Regions from separate parts of the Homo sapiens genome. Here regions 1, 2, 3, 5, 6 and 7 are each linked to region 4. The links are contacts of gene promoters, found by promoter capture Hi-C in blood cells and fetal thymus (Javierre and others, 2016). All regions are on one chromosome and are shown on one strand. The core of a region is centred on a gene start or on the middle of the fragment in contact, and the rest is flanking DNA. Distances in the headings are between cores, read along the strand shown. Region 1 overlaps AGFG1 (ArfGAP with FG repeats 1). Region 2 overlaps IRS1 (insulin receptor substrate 1). Region 3 has its middle 9.9 kb from the start of IRS1. Region 4 holds the start of CUL3 (cullin 3). Region 5 overlaps RHBDD1 (rhomboid domain containing 1). Region 6 overlaps MFF (mitochondrial fission factor). Region 7 overlaps RHBDD1 (rhomboid domain containing 1).

Region 1 (2,700 bases), core at 150-2,649, 2.9 Mb before region 4:
CACTTTTTAAGGCTAGGACAATCTTTTATATTACATATCAATTATACTAATGTTTATAGTCTCCATAAAACAAATAATTTAGTCTAAAACTAGTCTTTAAATCAACTAGAAGTTATTTAACATGAAGGCCATTTTTACTGTTGGCTATATTTTAAATGTCTGAAGTGTCCATTCAGAATTTTAGGGATTTCCATAAATACAACCAGAAAGACAGTGAAAGATAGTGACAAACCAATCAGTTAGGATGCCTTCATCATTCTGCCTCAGTAACAAATAGTTTAACTGCATCTAACTCTGAAGTTCATTTTAAAGTTTTACAATCTAAATTCAGTTACACTCTGAATGAACATCATTCAAGCATATAGGACAGTCATCTGAAAAAAAAGAAACAAGAAAGATTAGCTCCAAGTCTAGTAACATTAACAACAAGATGCTAGTTCAATTTATTTTAAAAAAAGGTATTAGTATAAATGATAGAAGGTATGTCACTATCCTAAAATTTAGAATTCATGATAGTGGATACTATTTGCTATGTATTCATATTTTCCAGGTAAATCAAGGAACGGCAGCTAGCATGCCTTATTTCAATATTTGTAACTCCAGTGCTTAGCCCTATCCTCAAATACGGTATGTGCTCAATAAGTAAATACAGTAACGATGTGTATCATTGAATCCTCTTAACAACCCTGAGCTATATGATATCTTCTTAACATAAATAAAGAAACTGAGGCTACAAGGATGGATCTGGGCCAATCTGCATGTAGTGGCCTAGCATAACACCTTGCCCTAAGCCACGAAGCTAGTAGCATTGTCAAAATCTGACTTCAAAATTCATATTCTTTCAATTATACCATGTCATCTAAACATCAGATACATAATTATTAAACCCAAGAGTTATATTATTCTTCCTAAATTATTTTCCTGCACTATTGCTTGTCAAAGAAAAAAATCTTCAGAAGCTATTGTCCCTCCAACGTTCTGCAGTAGACATTTGATGGTTGCCACTCTAGTCTTCATTCCCTACATCCCAAGAATTCTAGATTTCAGATTTGGGAACTCTATTTGGGGATCCTTGTGACAATGAAGTCAGGTTAGAACATGTGTCCAGTTGTGGCATGATCTAAGCTAACCCAATCAGAGGGAAATGCAGAACTTCTGAAAGTATTGGACCAACGACATAATTAAGGCAGTATACCCAGGAGCTGGGGACAACCATGCTCGAATGAGGAAAATCTAGGCAATATTATTAAGCCACTGTATAGTTTTACTTTAAAATCAATCAATAAACCCTTCATATTTTTAAACCAATTAGATTCCGGTTTTGAGTTACAACCATAAAATCCAAAGTGACAGATTTTTATTAGGATATTTCTTATTTAATATCTTTCACATACAGTACTGTTCCCTTACTCATGGCATGTCCTCTTCCTTGATGCTTCTCATCTATAGGGCACTTGCTATATACCAGGCATTACGTGAGATGTTTAACATACATTATTTTTAATACTGAAAACAAATCTACATCCAAAACTTACAAGGGAAATCTTATCCTCACTGTTTCATATAAGAGAAAAATCAAGCTCAAATAGATTGAGTGACATTCTCAATACCGTATAACTAATACTTGGAGTCAGGATTCAAAGCCATGTGTACCTAGCTCATAAGTACTTGATCTTTCAAACATATGAAGCAGAATTTCTCGTTAAAGGTCTTTGCTCAGGCATCAACTCCCAGAGAAGCTGTATCATTTACATATTTCCTGGCTATCTCATTCACAGAAAGGAAATACTACAATATATTGTAACTCTACGTTTACATACTTACAAGGCACGCTCCATAGAACAGTTAAGATCCAGGTAACTTATGACACAGGACAAGTAGGCAATAAATATTTGTGGAATGACTCAATAGAGAAATGAAGTCCTATCTGCCACAGATTAAGTTCCATTAAGATAAATAATTGTCATTATACTGAGATATCCTTTTATGCACAATGTTTCTGAAATGTGGTATCTAGGAAGAAATTTGAAAATATGTCCTTGATATTACACATTTGCTGCTGTACTTACAGGGACTACACAGAAATGTCAGAAATCCGGAAGTGTAAATATATGTATTTTTTCCAAATCAAATACTTTACATGGATTAAAGGACCTGTGTTTAGTAAAAGCAGGACATACATCTTAACCATGTAATAAAAATCAAATACAATTACAATTGTTCTATTGGCTTCATTTTGGAACCAATATTGTCCAACGTAAGTAACAACTTTCTAGCTTAACTCCTTTTTCTGTAAATGAAATGCATGAACCAGGCTACCTCCTTGATATCACCTAGCTCTGTGATTCTGTAGTAATTCGAGAATATTATTAACTGGCAACTTCTCAGAGTGTCTCCCTGGCCACACAGCCTAAAAGTAACCATGAGCACTCTCCTATCAAACAATTTTCATGTTCAGCATAGTACTTGCCCAAGACATTTTTCTTACTTTTGCATCCCCACTGGACTGTAAGAACCAAGAGAACAAGACTTTGCTATATTTACTGGCACACCCCAGGGCCTTACACAACCTAATAGGCACCAAAAAAAATGTCTGCTGAAGAAATAACACTCATGTAATACTAATAATGCCTCTTTGCCCAACTTTAAAAAGCAAATAGTACATACTAGACATGTTCTGCATTTTCTAAGTTTTAAGAA
Region 2 (2,700 bases), core at 19-2,518, 2.2 Mb before region 4:
GCTTTTCCAATCCTCTCACTATAATCAGATATGTGTCTTAGCTGAATAGTATATAAATGGTTCCTTTTATTTTGATGGGTTGGTAATTTAGTATATTGGAACATTTCACAGTTTTAAGGTTTTGTTTTGTTTTAAAGAAAGCCATTTCCTCAATTATTTCCTCATGTTACAAAGTTACTGGAAATTGTATTCAAGGAAAATAGCTTCTTGTGAATCATGCTTGAAGCCAGTTTCACACTAAAGATCCTGTAACTTTTTTTCATACTAGTATTTTTTTGCATGTAAAATAATAGATCCTGCCTCTACCACATTTATAATTATGTAACTGATTTATTCCTTCGTTACCTTATTAGTCCATAGCTATGCAGCAGACTTTGAGAGCTGTCTTTAAAATGTTATTGAAACATGTTCAGAAAGTGTAATCATATTGAATTTTAACTTAAAATTACATTTTAACGTTAGTATGATATAATAATTGCATACTAATTTCAAACTAATATGACATAGTTACAAAAATTTATTGTAAAGCTTTTTAAGAAGATAGGTTAGTAAGTATCATCTATTTGCTTCTATTTTTGTCTTATACTTTGGAAATGGTAGTACCTCTCCCATTCTTAATTCACAAAAAGGGAGAAGATGGATTGGACAAGTATAAGGTACTGTCATGTATGATAAAAGGAACACTTTCCATTTTAATAGTATTCTTGCAGCAGGCTCTGCTATAATCTATTTGTTGAAATAAATTTGGTTGGATAAATGTTATTTGTGCTTATTCAGTGAGCCAGTGATCTTTGAATAATAGAGCTTTGAAAAAGATGTATTTATGTTGAAAAGGCTTTTTGACCCTTTTTCTGTATTTTCCATTGATAATGGCAGTAGAGTTGAATACATGGGTCAGACTATGATTCTAGTTGCAGTTTTCTTAAAGCAGAGTAGAGATTTTGTGGTTTTATTACTCTACCAGGAATGTTTTATTGAGTAAGCTGAGTTGGATTGCATTCATTGTATTCCTTTTTACCATCCCAAGTTTTATAAATATTGCATATTACATATGTATCCTTGCACTCCACTTTTATTGTTGACCAAAGAATACTTTAATGCATGTTCTCTGATCCTCCCTGACATATTTAGGTCATATTGCTGAACAATATCACTTAATCTTGAGAAGTTTTCTCACGTTTGTTGAAATGATCAAAGAGACGTTTTTTTTTTTGAATATATGTAATGTGGCAAACAAATTATGTTTTGCACAGAAAGTCATGATTTTTACTTTTAGGAAGGATATGATCTAAGTGAGCTAGCAAAATAATAAAAGACATTTATAAACATTTAGCAGTTAGTTAAAGGCCACTGGAATATTGAGTAATTGCTAAGTAGTCAACTATAATTTATCTAATCTTCTCCAATCATCATGTCCCTATTCACTTAAAAATTATTTGGAGGGCTCTATGGATATGAAAAATAATTATGTTTACCCTTGAGTTTTAGGGGTTGTGGGGACAATCAGAAGATCAGAAGATCTTTAATTGTCTTTAATACTATTCAAGCCCACCACCCATTTCTCAACCCTAACATAAATTATCTGCTTTTGTCAAATAGGCCCTAAGCCATTTTTTCTTGTTCTTCCCCTCCCCTTCTTTTACTCAGTAAGCTCTATTGAGCACCTATCATGTTCCAAATAGTACACCTTTTATTGAAAGGGGATGAAGGTAGATTCATGGAAATGGAGGGAAAAATGGTACTGAGAGGAGATCACCAAAGGAGTTACCAAATTTCTTATGACATAAGTTATCCGGGAAAACCAAATCAAGATTCCGATTGTGTAGTTCACAAAAGTTGGCATTTTTCATAAACCTAAAGGGCAAAAGTGCCCATCTAGCTTAAAGGTTTGTATTTTTCTGAATCTTTCTAACCATGGCTTCCTGTCTGACAATACCATCAGCATACTAAATAATCAGGAAGGAACTCTCATTTGGAAGAATGGCCCATTTTTGGATATTAAGCTTGCAAACATAATATTGACAAAAAGCAGGAAAAAAGATATCTTTGCTTTGGATCTTTAGTCCCAGTGAAAGCAACCAGAAGAAGAGGCATCCAGCTGTTAAATGAAGAGGGGTTGAATGTGGACTTGTTATGGGGTGGTCAGTGTTAGGAAACCTGGGGGGAAAGTGGGGGCTACAAAATAAATTTTAAAGTCTTTTCTTGCTATCTTAGCTTTGTTATTCAAGGACTTTTTTCTTTTTTTTCCTTTGGGTGGGTGGTTTTTATTTTTAATGAAGAAAAGGTCCAACACTTTGAACTGTGGTTCCTTGCTTGCTTCTGGCTGCAAGTATAATTGCTTTTGAGATTTTTCTCCCTCTGTTTTGATGATATGCAGTCACGTTTATTTTTAAGTTTGTGGTAGTCTCTTACAGAAACATGTTTTAAAAGTTTTTTTTTTTTTTTTTAGACTACCAAGTTTTATAATAGCTTGCTGGGTCTCTTCACACTATTTTTTTCTCTGTATTTTTGTATAGGTGATACATGTACATGCTGTAAGTTTCCAATTTTTTTTGGTTTTTTTTTGTTGTTGTTGTTTTTGTTTTTTTTTTTTTAAGGTAGAGAGTGAAAAATAAGGCTTCCTCCCACCTTTGTCCCCAGTTTCTCATAGGCCACCATCACTGCTGGGTTTTGTTTATCTTTCCAGAGATAGACTGCTTA
Region 3 (2,700 bases), core at 137-2,636, 2.2 Mb before region 4:
ATGAAAGAGAGTAAGCAATTTTGTGGGAAACATTCTTAATCTGAGCAAATATCCACATGCACGAGCAAGGTCACCTGGGGGAGTGGGGCAAGTCACCATGTGGCAAAGGTGGGATGAGTCCTCTGCCATTCTCAGTTGACCTATAATAAATTGTACATAGATTAGCTTTACTTTTGCTTTTATATCAAGATGGAAAAATTGCAAAATGAAAACAACAGTAACATTAGTTTTACAACCCCCAGGGATGTGTTTAAGCATACAGCTGGCCCTTGAACAACAGGGGTTTGAACTGCATGGATCCATTTATCCACGTTTTTCTTATGCCTCTGCCTCCACTGAGACAGCAAGACCAAGCCCTCTTCTTCTTCCCCCTCCTTAGCCTACTCAATCTGGAAATGATGAGGATGAAGATCTTTAGGATGCTCCACTTTCACTTAATGAGTAGTAAATATATTTTCTTTTCCTTATGATTCTCTTAACATTCACTTTTTTTTTTTTTTTTTTTTTTTTTGAGACGGAGTCTTGCTCTTTTGCTCAGGCTGGAGTGAAGTGGTGTGATCTCGGCTCACTGAAACTTCCACCTCCCTGGGTTCAAGCGATTCTCCTGCCTCAGCCTCACAAGTAGCTGAGATTATAGGTGCCTGACACCACACCCAGCTAATTTTTATATTTTTAGTAGAGACGGGATTTTGTCATGTTGGCCAGGCTGATCTCGAATTCCTGACCTTAGGTGTTCCACCCACCTCAGCCTTCCAAAATGCTAGGATTACAGGCATGAGCCACCATGCCCCGTCAATACTCACTTTTCTCTAGATTATTTTATTTTAAAAATACAGTATATAATGCAGATACAAAATATGTGATAATCTACTGCATTATCAGTAAAGTTTCTGGTCAATGGTAGGCTATTAGAAGTTAAGTTTTTGGAGAGTCTAAAGTTATATGCAGATTTTCAACTTTGTGGAGTTGCCACTCCTAATGCCTGCATTGTTCAAGCATCAACTATATTTTGTAGTTCTATAGAGATTCCAAGAGTTATGTTATGGTTTTTACACTTTAGTAAATTGTGTGTCCCACCAATGACATGGTAATTTTATGTTACATTATTATTATATTGTTGGGTATTGATGTATTTTACATAAGATTTTATTTCACATTTTCCAACTTAAAACTAGGTGTTGGTATTGATATTTGTCTTTTGCAGTAAATTACCTTACATTAGTCTTTTAAAATAGTTTTTAAAAAGGTGAAAGCTATTATTTGTTATTTTGTAAAGTTTTAAATCAGTAAAGACTAATAAATCTAGAAGTAGATTCCTAGATATAAACTTTTGTCTAAAATATTTTAAAATATTTGGTTTAAAAATTAGGACATATCTTGGCAATTTTTCCTATTAATATGAGTGTCTCTCTCTCTCCCTCTCTTTCTCAAAATCTTAAGAATGTTTAGAAGTCTAATCTTAGAGACAAGACTAAATTGCATAGTGAGACTAAACATAGCATCCACTGTACTTTAGTATCTCTGTCCTCATAGGAATTTTTCAAGTTAAAGTTATTTAGGAAATATAAAATATGTTGCCATAATTATCCCTACAAACTCTACTAACCTACTGTACACATCTGAGTATGTTGAACTTTTGTGATTCCACTAAAGAATTCAGTCAGATCATAAACATTGTGGGCATCTGCAATCAATGTTAATATCTTATACATAACACAAACATGATGCTAGATCTTATGTTAATTCCAAGTCTTCTTCTGACTTGACCATCAGCAGCAATTGACTCAGTTGTTCACTCTCTTTTTCCTGATATGGTGTCTTCCTGCCTAAAAGAGAGCAACTTTACTGGTTGTTCTTCTGTCTCCCTTGCTGGCATCTTTGTCCTCTTCTTTTGTCTATCTACTTTCTCTTTCTTGATGATTTTATCCAGTATCATGGGCTTTAAATCCTACTCATAGGCTGACAACCTTTACATTTATACCTAAGCCCAGACTCATCTTTTCAACTCTGGTTTATATACACAAATGCCTACTTGATATCTCCACTCGGAGGATCAATAAGCACCTGAAACTCAGCATGTCTAGAACCAAACTCCTGATCTTCCCCCATCTTCCCCATTCCTGTTCAGCCACAGTATTTCAATCTGTGGTAGTTTAAAACAATGACTACAAGTTTTTTTTTTTTTGACACTACTTCCATCAAGAACTGTGGTCTAGGTTCCCTGCCCTTTTATCTGGGTGGGCTCATGTCTACTTTGATCAATAGGATACATACAGTAGAAATGAAGCTCTGACTTCTGAGGTAAGGTCATAAAAGGCTACACAATTTCTGTCTGATTCTCTTGGAACACCTCCTCTCTAGAAGCTCCCTCTTGGCATGTTAACTCTCGAGATGGTCTCTCTTCAGACACTCACCTTTGAAATCCAGCCTCCACGCTGTGAAAAGTCCAAGTCACATGGAGAGACCGGATGTAAGTACTCTAGTTGATGTAGCCTTCAGTCATTCTAACGCAGGTGCCAGACACATGAGTGAACAATGTTTCAAATGATTCCAGGCTCCAGCCTTTCAAGTCAAATAGTCCCACAACCATTTGAGCCATCCCAGCCAGGACACAGACAAGCCATCAACACTGTGCCCTGTCTGAATTCCTGGCCCATAGAATCCTAGAGCATAATAAAAGAGTTGATGTTTCATAATTAT
Region 4 (2,700 bases), core at 95-2,594:
CAACCTTACAGTCAACAAATAAGTGTATTTCACTTTATATTGTTTGCTATTTAAAAGTATTAAAATTCCAGCTTCTAAATGTAGATATCCATCCCCCAAACATATGCTTCTTTAAAATAGGAAGAACACAAACTTTAATAAGAACTCACGTATTCCCTTGCAGAGTCAGAAACCCAAACATAACAGCAATTGGGCAAGTAGGTAAATGAGGAAGTACAATTCATAACAAATGGACAGCAAAACCGATAAGTCAAATTAGACATTTTGACTATAAAGCGACCAAACGCCTCTCCTCCAAAACCAAAAGCCAAAACCTTTTCAAATATACAGCAACTGAATCAGACGGTAATTTTGGCTTTAAAAATCTACAATACTCTTGGTAATGGTAGAAATGATTTATCCGGTAGGTTAAAGATAGGTTTCTATCATTCCACTTAACATTATTTACCAAATGCTGCATTTCATTAATGGAGCTGTCAGTTTATTCTGATGGTAATGAAAAACAGGTTTTAACATGAATAAGCCCTGGGTCCACCAGAAAATATCAGTGAATCAAGAGGTCCCGAAGCTTATGCAGTTTAAGGGAACTTCGTAGATTAAATTTCCACCTTCCAGTCCTGAGAGCTGTGGTGTGCACACCCAGTCCGAATACCTTGTTGAGCATACAGGACACTAATTTCCGACACTGCAGCTAACTCCTGCACAAACTCTTCAAGTTGCAGGCTTCTACTCAAGTACCCATCCCTAGTCCACATGCCCTAGAAAAACACAGGAACCAGTTCGGGACGTAGTTACACATCTAGCACCCCACGCTCCTCCTCAAGACTATCCTCCTGCTGTCCCAGCCCAGTGGGGCCCAGCCCACTACCATCCCGCTCCCGCTCTCCGAACTTCCCCCCTCCCACTCCCCACCATGTGACCAGGACCCTCCCAACCGCCGCTCCGAGCTCCACCAATCAGCAACCACCTCCACCCAGAACCCGGGACCTGGCGCTCCACTTTCAAAAAGGCAGCTTAATCCTCCCGCCCTCAGCCACGCCCCCTTTCCGCTTCCCCGCCCCGCCGGCCCCTCCCACTTCCTTCAGTTCCCTGTTCCCCTCCTCCCCTCCGGTGGCGCCCACCCTCTCCCGGGCTTCGCCCCGCCCACCAGGGGGGCAGCGCGCTCGCCCTCTTCTCGCGAGATCTGAGCGTCCCCCGCGGCGGCCGCCGGGCTCCCCCTCCCGTCCTCCCACCTCCCTCCCCCGGCATCTCTCACTCTCCGGCTCTCCTCCCTCCCTCCTCCCCCCTCCACCCTCTGGGCCGGATCTCGTCTCGCTCAGGCGGAGGAGGAGAAGGAGGAGGAGGAGGACGACGTTCGGCCTGCGCAGTGAGATGTTTGTCCGTCGCCGCCGCCGCCGCCATCGCGGAGGAGCGCGATAAAGGGAGCCGAGCCGGACGTGAGGGGGACCCCGCGGAGCCGCCGCGCCAGCGCAGCCCCCCAGCCGCATCGGAGTCGCCAGAGTCCGAGCCGCCGCCGCCGCCGCCGCCGCCCCCGCCGCCGCCGCGGCTGCCCAGGGGCCGGCCAGCTCCCCAGCCCTGCCCGGGGGTCGCGCCGCCGCCGCCCCCAGCGTCGCCCCTAGCCTGCCTGCCCGCCTTAAATGTGACACCGGCGTCGCGGAGCGCGACCTGAAGCCGCCGCCGGGGAGGGGACGAGCACCATGTCGAATCTGAGCAAAGGCACGGGCAGCCGGAAGGACACCAAGATGCGGATCCGGGCCTTTCCGGTGAGTCTCTCCTCGGCGTCCGGGACCCCGGGGCCGGGGGCCGGGCCGAGAGCCGCACGCGAGGCCCGGGCTGAAGTCCCCCAACAGGCCGCAGGCCCGGCCTCCCCTCCCCCACGCCCGCCGGCCGCGGGGCGCGAGCCTTCCCGGCAACCGGGCGGCGCGGGGCCCCGGCGCGGCCGCCCTCCCGGGCCGTTCCCCGCGCCGGGAGCCCGGGCCTGGCGCCGCGCCCCCGTCCGGGAGCTGCTCCTTCAGCCGCTCCGCGGGCGTCGGCTGCGGCCGGGGCCCCTCGGCCGCCCCACGCCTCCCCACGTTGCCGGGGTTGTAGGCCCAGTCTCCGGCGCTGCTAGCAGCCGCGGAGTCCTCCCTGTGTGGGGCGTGTGTGGAACTTTTCACGTGGGGTTTCGCTACACTTTGAAAATTTACCCAGCCTAGCTTTTAGGGTGATGAAGGGGCTGCCCTCTCTCTCTGCCCCCCTCCCCAGGAAGGTCTATGCCATCAACCTGCCCCCGACGCAGTGACAGTGGTTCCACGGAATGCTCCGTGGTCATAAACTAGTAACATTGGGTGTATTTATAGCGTCTTTCATCCTACAAGCTTCCTAAGCACTTTACAAACTCTTGTGCAGGATTGCCTCGCCACTCGGAGGAAGGCCGGGTGGGGGGGAAGCAACAGAGAGCAAACCGGCCAATTGGTTCTCCATTTCTCAGCCTTGGGAGCCCAAAGAATGAGTGTAGTCGCCTTGCGGAGTAGCTTTGTTTCATCGCTTTCAGTGACAGCAAACGTGTTCTGCTCAGAAACTTTTTCTTTTTTGGCATTACGTTGAGTCGTACCCTTGCGATGTTTAGTATATAGGATATAACTTTGGGTGTCAAATCTGGTTCAGCTTCCCCGTGGCAAGCAATTAAAATGTACTGTTAACGAACTGGGCATACTTGCC
Region 5 (2,700 bases), core at 34-2,533, 2.4 Mb before region 4:
TGCCAGCAGGTGGAACCAGAGGCCTATGACATTAAATCTGCTGAAGAAAACTAGGACAAATTCCAGTCAACAAAGCATTCCGCATCGTAAGCAGAATTAGGGTTATTTTGAAACAGATGGGCGCTACAGAGGCTGCTGCATTGAATATTATGGAGTTGTTTATTGTCTAGATGGCCCGAAACCCAGGAGTTATTTGCCAGCATCTAGCAGTTTCTATGTCATATCAGAATTCTTCCAGAGCAGAGGAGACTGACAAGGCACTGGGAGAGATATAGATACAGATATGGATATGAATGTAGATAGTTTAACCAGTTCTAATCCTGAATTTCCTCCTGCTATTGTGCATGCTGCCTCGTGTTAGTGAGTGCTTTGCAGGAATGATCCGGAGCCTCCTAAATATGCTAACTCCAAATCAGAGGAGATAAACAGACATAATCTATGGTAATAAGACAATCAATCCTGGATGCAGTAATACTCAAAATGATCTATGTTAGGCCTAATCAGGTGGTACTGGTTACTGGCTCACATTTTCACTCAAACCCCCCACTTGTACTTGCCCCCAATCCTCCTCTTTGCTTCTGCCCCTCCTCCCCCTCCCCCACCCCAACCCCCAGGAGAGCATCAGAAGGGCGGAAGTGAGATAAAAGGCCCATCTAGCTCTCATTCTGACTGTGCCTGATGCCTGGTTCAGAGTGCACACTGCTGTCTAAGGACACTCAGAACTTGGTTTGACTTGGGGGTTTCTCTGGCCTAGCACTGAGTGAATGTACAAGACCAGGGCTTATAAATTGAGTATTCCATGAGTTCTAGGAATCTGCAAAAGTCTCCAGCACCAGTGGTTCCTTTCAGGAGAATATTTCTAATTCCTTAGCCTACGACCCCAGGGCGTTAGCTGTTGCTGTTCTGCCTGGTCCGCCTAGGCTCAGAGAGGTCACGAAGGCTGTCATGGACTCAATATTTGTGTTCCCTCAAAATCCATACGTTGAAGTCCAAACCCTCAATGTGATGGCATGTGGAGGTGGGGCCTTTGGGAGGTAATTAGGTTTACATGAGGACATGAGGGTGGAGCCCCCGTGATGGCATTGGTAAACTTATCAGGGAATGAAGAGGCCAGAGCTTGCACTCTCTGCCAATGTGAGGTCACAGTGAGAAGGCAGCCATCTATAATCCAGGAAGAGGGACCCCACTATAACCTGATCATATTAGTACCTGGAACTTCTAGCCTCCAGAACCGTGAGAAATAAATTTCTGTTGTTTAAGCCACCGGGTCCATGGTAGTATTTTGTTAAGGTGGCCTAAACTGACTAAGACAGCATCTTTGAAGTTGGCAGCTTGGCAACTGGTAGTTCAGCAGGTGCTGGCTGTCACAGCTGCTGGGCAGACCCCCAGTGATCAGAGCGGTGAACAGATGTGCTTTCTGGTGGAGAAGAAAGCACATCTTTCTTGGGACTCTGTCCTAAGTGGTGGCTTCATAATTGCCGGAGACAGCAGCTCCCTCCCTCCAAGGGACACAATGCCAGCTGCATGGCTCACCCTCCTATACGAGCAGGGACAGTTCCTCCATTCACAAATAACAAGATCCCCCACACCATTGCGTTTTGCCCAGGCTCTCAAATCTTCTGTTCAGCTAAAGGTATAAAGAAGCATTTTTGATAATATTTAGACCTGTTTTATTTTTTTCTCACTCCCTTCCACTTGAGTTTCAAACCAGAGAGATGGCCCAATTTCCAGTCCTTCAAACCAAGGATCAAGGGAATGTTTTCATTGACTTTTGAAATCAAAGACCATTTGAAATTAGCCAACATTTCCCTCAGAAACCTCAATCTTCTTAAAACACTCCTTAACCTTTGCACGTGAAAAAAAGTACAAGTAAACATCATCCCAAGCATTCAAGGAATAAGGAAAAAAAAAGACAAGCCAGTGGGAAAAGAACTTTGAAAAGGGACAAAAAGTTGGCAACTTCTGCTGAGAACAACCATCCCCGAGTGGTCAAGTTTAGGTCACCCTGGACAACTACTGCAGATAACCATGTGTCTTGTAAAACAAGGCTGTTGGGCCTGGGAAAAGAAATGGATTGAGGTGGCTGGCCCCTAGGCTAGGTGGCCTGACTGACTAGCAGCAAATAAAGTGAACCACATAACTGGCCCCAGGTCCCACAGCTACCCAATACTTCCGTGCCACATTCCCGCAGAAAACACAGCATGCTTCGAAGGGCTAAATACTAGATGCTGGATTTAGAACAGTGATTCTCAAATCCACGTCGGGGAGCTTGGTGAGAGGCAGATTCTAGGGTTCTAATGGAAGATTCCAGATCAATGTCTGTTGGGGGACCCAGAAATGTGCATTTTTTAACATGCACCTCAAGTGAGCTGGATGCCCACATGCCCCACTTTGAGAAACTCTGATCACAGGAATGCCATAGTGTGTTCTGTGGTTATGTTTGCCTTTGACCATTTGCACTAGCATGGCATTTGGTTTAGTACAAGTAGGTTTCTGGTGACATTTACTATGAGTCAAAGACTGGTAGTTTCCTAGGTTATGCTATGCTCAACCTTGGATGATGTAGATTTTAAAAGATAAAAGTGCAACCCAGCTATCCTGAAAAACACAACAAATACAATCGTTAGTTAAAATTCTATTTGTGATGACACTGGAGTAGAAGAAACTGGCCCAGTGTCACTCACCCAGTCCTAGGAACAA
Region 6 (2,700 bases), core at 96-2,595, 2.7 Mb before region 4:
TTTTTTATGGCTGAATAAGAGTTACTATATGGCTAGATGATGTTTTGCTTATCCATTCATCAGCTGATGGATATTTTACTTGCTTCCACCTTTTTGCTATTACAGACATTTTTGGATATCATGACTTGGAAGACGGTAATGGCATCTTGTAGATAGAGATCACAAATGTTGCAAACATTCTACAGTGCAAAAAGGTGGCTCTCACCACAACAAGGAATTTTCCAGTCCAAAATGCCAACAGTGCTGAGGTAGAGCACTATTGCTCTACCTCATTCTAGCATCCACTGCAGAATGATACAGAGCAAATGTTCTGGGGATCTCACTTTATCGATTCTGAGTTAACACCTGAATGAATCATCAATGTTATCAGTACTCAGGCCCTTACTGCTTCTCTATTTCAGTCAATTTCTAGAAGCTACTAGAACCCTGGCTCCCTTACCCCTTCCTCCCTTGCTCACTGCAGTTGAGTGCTTCTTGAAGGCTACTGGACCCTTCTATAAGCTTGTATAAACTTGAAGTCCAAACCATCATCTTTGCTTTCAATAAGCAGCTGGTATTAATCTCAGAAACTCGTCTTTCATTTCAGGATCTGGCTCCTGCCACAGGATTTTAAGTCTCTCCTAACAATAACATTTATATATATTGAGCTTTTAACACGAATTAGAACATGCATGATTACATTTAATTCTCATAACAATCTCATGCACTTGGCATTATTCTTATCTTTATTTCAGAGATACGCCCTAGAACTGTTAAATAACTTGCCCAAAGTTATGTGGTTAGTAAATGGCAAAGTAGGTCTTCAAAATTAGTTCTAATTCTCACACAAACTTTTTTACCCCAGTGTTATACACTCTGAACATCTATCACATTTGACTAAATATCACAATTAATGCAGGAATGAACCCCGTAGAGTCTTAAAGCCTGGGTCTACTGAGGGAAATCCCGGCAAACTTTCTTCACTCACTCTTAAAATAATCAATCAGGGAATTGCTTGGGTTGCTTTCAATTAGGAGAAGCAGAAAGACCAACAGAAAAACCCGAAGAATACAATAAGGAGCATTTCTTTCCTGGCAAAATCGTCACTGTAAGACAATTATTTTCACAGGTATAATTCCCAAGGAACTTTGGGGAGTTAGAAAGCTGGGCCTTAAACTGGGAGCACACTGGATACTTTTGTTTTATGTAACCATCTTGGTAACTTTCATTATTTTCTGCTATTAAAGAATTTTGTATCTTCTGCATGCGTTGATGTCTTTCCCTCACTCATATCATTGTCCTGCTGAAACCAGACAGACAGCAAACTTTTTGAATGCAGGAACTATGTCTCATTAATTCCTATACTGCATATAGTATCTCAGAGATAAAAGTTAAAAAATGTTTGTTAAATAATACAATTCTGCAAGTATGTTAGTGCCTTTCTGTCATGTAAAGGCTCAGATTTAGTGCTTTTCACCAAATACCTAGAATATCCAAACTAACTGTGAGCATATTACCTCAATTATGTCAGCAGAAACTTACAATCTAAGAACCTAATCCTAGAAAATTGCATTGCCCTAGACAGTATGGGTGCTTTACCCTCTTTGGAAAGTATTACATGCAAAATGAAACCAGACACAAGCAGTACCATTATTAATAAAAACATATGTTTGCACATTGTCTCATACTAGCTTCATGACAACATGTTAGAAGTTCAAAAGCTATATGAAAAAGATGTAACCCCAGCAATCATCACGGCAAAGCAGCTTCAAAGGTTAGCTGTAAGTCAATGACAAAGGCAGGATTCGAACTCTGTTACTAACACCTTGTTAGTCTACACTGCTACATTTAGGTCAACTGGCACATTAACGTGATGCAGTAGAGTAGCTCAGTAGAAACTTTTAATCAAGTAGCGAGAATGGGTAGTGTCAAGCGAAAAAGGGTTTTCTTTGCCCTGTTTGCTAGACTGATTTTATAACAAAGTGATACATTTACTTCTTATTGCTAAACTTCCCAACATTTTCTTATTATTTAACAAGTAACACCTACCCATAAAGGCTCTTTCTTCAAACCACAGGAACTTAATAATACTTACCACAAAACTTACATTTTTCCTAAAACATAATATTCAAATTTTAAAAATAGCATAATAACTTATTTGGCACATTTGTAAATTAGAATTATTAGTAATGTTCCATATGGAAAGCTTTCATGACATATTGCTAAAGATATGATAAAGCCTCTTTGCTCTTCTCTTTTACCTTTGTCTACATTATTTCAAATTCCGGTGATACTAAAGTTCTACTTACTTCTTCATTTTGAGGGGTTGTAGGAGGTCTTTCTAAATCCAGAAAATCTAGTGGTCTTTCACTCAGCGTAAGTACACGAGGTGGTGTTTTCAGTGCCAGGGGTTTAAAGGGAGTTGACTGAATAAGGTCAAGATCTGCTGGTCTTGAAAATGAAACATCTTCATTATTTCCTAGGAGTTTTCAAGAAAAGAGACAAAGAAGAGAAAAGCGGGAGGTTTTTTAAAAAGACAGTGATTTTTGTTAAAATGTATTTACCTTCTTCTGCTTTTGAATTATACCACCCAATAAGCATTAGTTTCTTTCAAAATATGCTTCCAGGCCGGGCGCGGTGGCTCACGCCTGTAATCCCAGCACTTTGGGAGGCCGAGGCGGGCGGATCACGAGGTCAAGAGATCGAGACCATCCCGGCTAA
Region 7 (2,700 bases), core at 178-2,677, 2.3 Mb before region 4:
AGTCACAGCTTAAAAAAAAATCCGTTTTAAAAATCAAGATTTTAAAAAAGTAACAAGAATTCAAATTTATATTTTTCTCATCTTAGAATGTATTCTATATAAATAGAGAAGCTGAGGAACAAAAGCACCCATACCTTCTCCAACTTTCTCCTACCAGGGCCAGGCATCTGGCTGGCTAGGATTCTGGCTGGGAGGACTTTAGGGGATTGGGGAGTTGCAAGGCGTTCCATGCTTGGCTTTCCTTCACCCCCAAGCCCTACCCTGCAAAGCAAGGTTTACTCTGAGAGAGAATTCACAGAGAGGCGAAAACTGCTTTTCTACCTTTTAAGAATTTCTAGTATAAAGGATCACTATCCCTGTGTTTTGCCAGATCACTGAAAGCTGCATGGTCAGTTCAGGTCATTTTGCCTTTGTAGAATGACGTTTGCAGATATAATCTAACATTAGAGGCCTTGACATAGGTCTCACCCAAAGAATCATCTTCATATTGTTGTGAAGCACCATTCAGACAATGTTTCTCATGCAAAATCTCATCAGAGCTAGAAAAAGCTTAAGTTTGCCTAATAAATGAATATGCTTTCCTCTGCTGAGAGCCACTCAACCATTTGGGTTTGCTGTTTTCTTTCTTTACTACAAGCTTGTGTCTTATGTCATCTAAAGCAGATACTTTTTGGAAATGGGCAAATAATAAAAATATATGTCAATATTGAAAATGTTAAGTCAATGTAATTCAGAGAAGACCTTAGGGAAGTTTCTTCACCCCAGCCAGGCTTTGAAAGATAAAAAGTGGATGAAAGAAAGGTATTTTAAAGAAAGAAAATAGCATGCATGTGCTGTTACCATAGAGACATAAAATACGATAATGTTTAGGGAAGTAGAAGTAACTAGTATGCTCCATTCTGCTCCACTATAATGCTTGTTTTGAAATGAAAAAATTTGCTCAAATGCAACTTGTATATTAGGGAATAATTTGAGCAGAAGTGCAAATTTCACTTTTGATGCATGCAGAAAACTGCACCCTGCTGAGGCAAACTGCACAGAAATTCACAAAATGAACAATTTTATACATTTCAAACATCTATCAGTTACCCCAGTTCACAGAGTACATTATGAGCTATACCTATCCACATGTGCAGTTAACAACTTTCCATTCACTACTTGACAAAACCCTCCTTCCACTACTTGACAAAAATTCATAAGCTGCAATTCTGACAACTACTTCCACAAGCAAAGGTCAGGACTTTTGAAGGTAAAATGCCACATTTACTTACATATATAGTACTTACATATTTTTTAACCATTTAATAATGGCTGATTGTCATTCATTATTATCCCACTTCTACTCCATGTTCTCCATGTTTTACTCTTACATTTCCTTTTTTTTTTTTTTTTTTGAGATGGCATTTCAATCTTGTTGCCCAGGCTGGAGTGCAATGGCACGATTTCAGCTCACTGCTGAGCTGAATCACTCCCGGGTTCAAGCAATTCTCCTGCCTCAGCCTCCTGAGTAGCTGGGACTACAGGCACCCGCCACCATGCCTGGTTAATTTTTGCAGTTTTAGTAGAGACAAGGTTTCACCATGTTGGCCAGGCTGGTCTTTAACTCCTGACCTGAGGTGATCCACCTGCCTCAGCCTCCCAAAGTGCTGGGATTACAGGCGTGAGACACTGTACGCGGCCTACACTTCCATTCTTTAATCAAACCTACAAAAGCTGGAAGTTTTCATTACTCAAATATTCAAAATACCAAATGCTTTTAATTTTCTCAGAAAAATCAGAATTAGAGGGGATAAATTCTCTATCAAATATGCCCCTATTTTTCCTTTTCTGATTTCTCTACCAAAAGTTGTTTTACTATCCTTCATACAAACTTTAAAAATGAGATTCATTTAATTTTGGCATTTGTTTATTTGACTGCATGTCTTAAATGTGCCAAGGTTTCAAGTCTGATTATAGTTATTCCAGGACACAAGCAACACTGCGTTTGGCCAGATGCTTTTAGTAAGATAAATACATATAATATTCACTGTGAGTATATAATCCTGACCACCAATTTCAACAAAGAAATAATGGAAAAATAAAAACAAGAACCCAAGATCAGATGTTCTGACAGCACATGCAGCTCAATGAACAAATTGCATTTACATTCATTGTGCATGTTTCACTTTCAGACAGCACACAAGGTCAAACTACTAACTGTCAGTTACAATAAGCTTCTAAACTTCTGGTCAATTACCTGGCTAATAACAAAAGACAAGGCTATGACATCATTATGGTTATAATTAATTTACACAGATCAGCTTCCTGTTAATCAAATATATCTTTAAAAGCATTTAATTATTTTTCACCTAGAAAGCAACATTCAGCTTTGTTAAATGAAAAGCAATCTTGCTGAATTTAACACGAAAGGCTGTCAGGCTGCTCTAAGACATAAAGAACAAATGGCTTCACAGGGCACACTGCTGCAATACAGGAGCTGTTGCCACATTCCCAACAAACAGAAGCACAAGATGATGGATAATACAACACATTTTAACAGTTTCAGAATATAAAGAAGTTGTCAGGGAACTGAAAGTAAAGAGATGGGCTTTGGGAAAAGAAATGTCCCAGTGCTTTTTGCCAAAATTATATACAAGGGTGGCAATATTAACATATGCAGCATAGGACAGCAGTTAAGGGCATGGTCCTTGGCTCTACGAT

What was found. The method cuts DNA at HindIII sites, captures the fragments that hold promoters and counts their contacts. A CHiCAGO score of 5 or more calls a contact.
Region 1: a fragment that was not itself captured here is called in contact with the fragment with the promoter of CUL3 in region 4 in 4 of 17 cell types (non-activated CD4 T cells, fetal thymus, naive CD8 T cells and 1 more); the score reaches 6.4 in non-activated CD4 T cells.
Region 2: a contact is called between a fragment that was not itself captured here and the fragment with the promoter of CUL3 in region 4, in 4 of 17 cell types (naive CD8 T cells, non-activated CD4 T cells, naive CD4 T cells and 1 more). The highest score is 8.1, in naive CD8 T cells.
Region 3: a fragment that was not itself captured here is called in contact with the fragment with the promoter of CUL3 in region 4 in 1 of 17 cell types (naive CD8 T cells); the score reaches 5.1 in naive CD8 T cells.
Region 5: a fragment that was not itself captured here is called in contact with the fragment with the promoter of CUL3 in region 4 in 1 of 17 cell types (fetal thymus); the score reaches 6.0 in fetal thymus.
Region 6: a fragment that was not itself captured here is called in contact with the fragment with the promoter of CUL3 in region 4 in 1 of 17 cell types (non-activated CD4 T cells); the score reaches 6.0 in non-activated CD4 T cells.
Region 7: a fragment that was not itself captured here is called in contact with the fragment with the promoter of CUL3 in region 4 in 1 of 17 cell types (non-activated CD4 T cells); the score reaches 9.0 in non-activated CD4 T cells.

The regions. Positions count from the first base shown.
Region 1 is chr2:227,473,753-227,476,452 of GRCh38, reverse strand. All of the region lies in intron 1 of AGFG1 (ArfGAP with FG repeats 1), which reads right to left. Among named protein-coding and RNA genes, the nearest start is that of AGFG1, 2.9 kb to the right of the region's middle. The HindIII fragment of the contact is 3,002 bases long and covers 1-2,700 here.
Region 2 is chr2:226,786,533-226,789,232 of GRCh38, reverse strand. All of the region lies in intron 1 of IRS1 (insulin receptor substrate 1), which reads left to right. Among named protein-coding and RNA genes, the nearest start is that of IRS1, 12 kb to the left of the region's middle. The HindIII fragment of the contact is 1,475 bases long and covers 531-2,005 here.
Region 3 is chr2:226,808,352-226,811,051 of GRCh38, reverse strand. It overlaps a transcript of RHBDD1 not described here. Among named protein-coding and RNA genes, the nearest start is that of IRS1, 9.9 kb to the right of the region's middle. The HindIII fragment of the contact is 6,682 bases long and covers 1-2,700 here.
Region 4 is chr2:224,584,007-224,586,706 of GRCh38, reverse strand. CUL3 (cullin 3) reads left to right here and starts at 1,344. Exons shown (of 16, transcript NM_003590.5): 1 at 1,344-1,763. The coding sequence starts at 1,698. RefSeq lists silencers at 871-1,290, 1,621-1,880. The HindIII fragment of the contact is 1,789 bases long and covers 571-2,359 here.
Region 5 is chr2:226,982,831-226,985,530 of GRCh38, reverse strand. All of the region lies in intron 8 of RHBDD1 (rhomboid domain containing 1), which reads right to left. It also overlaps a transcript of COL4A4 not described here. Among named protein-coding and RNA genes, the nearest start is that of RHBDD1, 150 kb to the right of the region's middle. The HindIII fragment of the contact is 3,318 bases long and covers 1-2,700 here.
Region 6 is chr2:227,332,177-227,334,876 of GRCh38, reverse strand. MFF (mitochondrial fission factor) reads right to left here. Exons shown (of 9, transcript NM_001277062.2): 4 at 2,289-2,458. Among named protein-coding and RNA genes, the nearest start is that of MFF, 8.3 kb to the right of the region's middle. The HindIII fragment of the contact is 1,684 bases long and covers 504-2,187 here.
Region 7 is chr2:226,845,442-226,848,141 of GRCh38, reverse strand. All of the region lies in intron 3 of RHBDD1 (rhomboid domain containing 1), which reads right to left. Among named protein-coding and RNA genes, the nearest start is that of RHBDD1, 11 kb to the right of the region's middle. The HindIII fragment of the contact is 1,576 bases long and covers 640-2,215 here.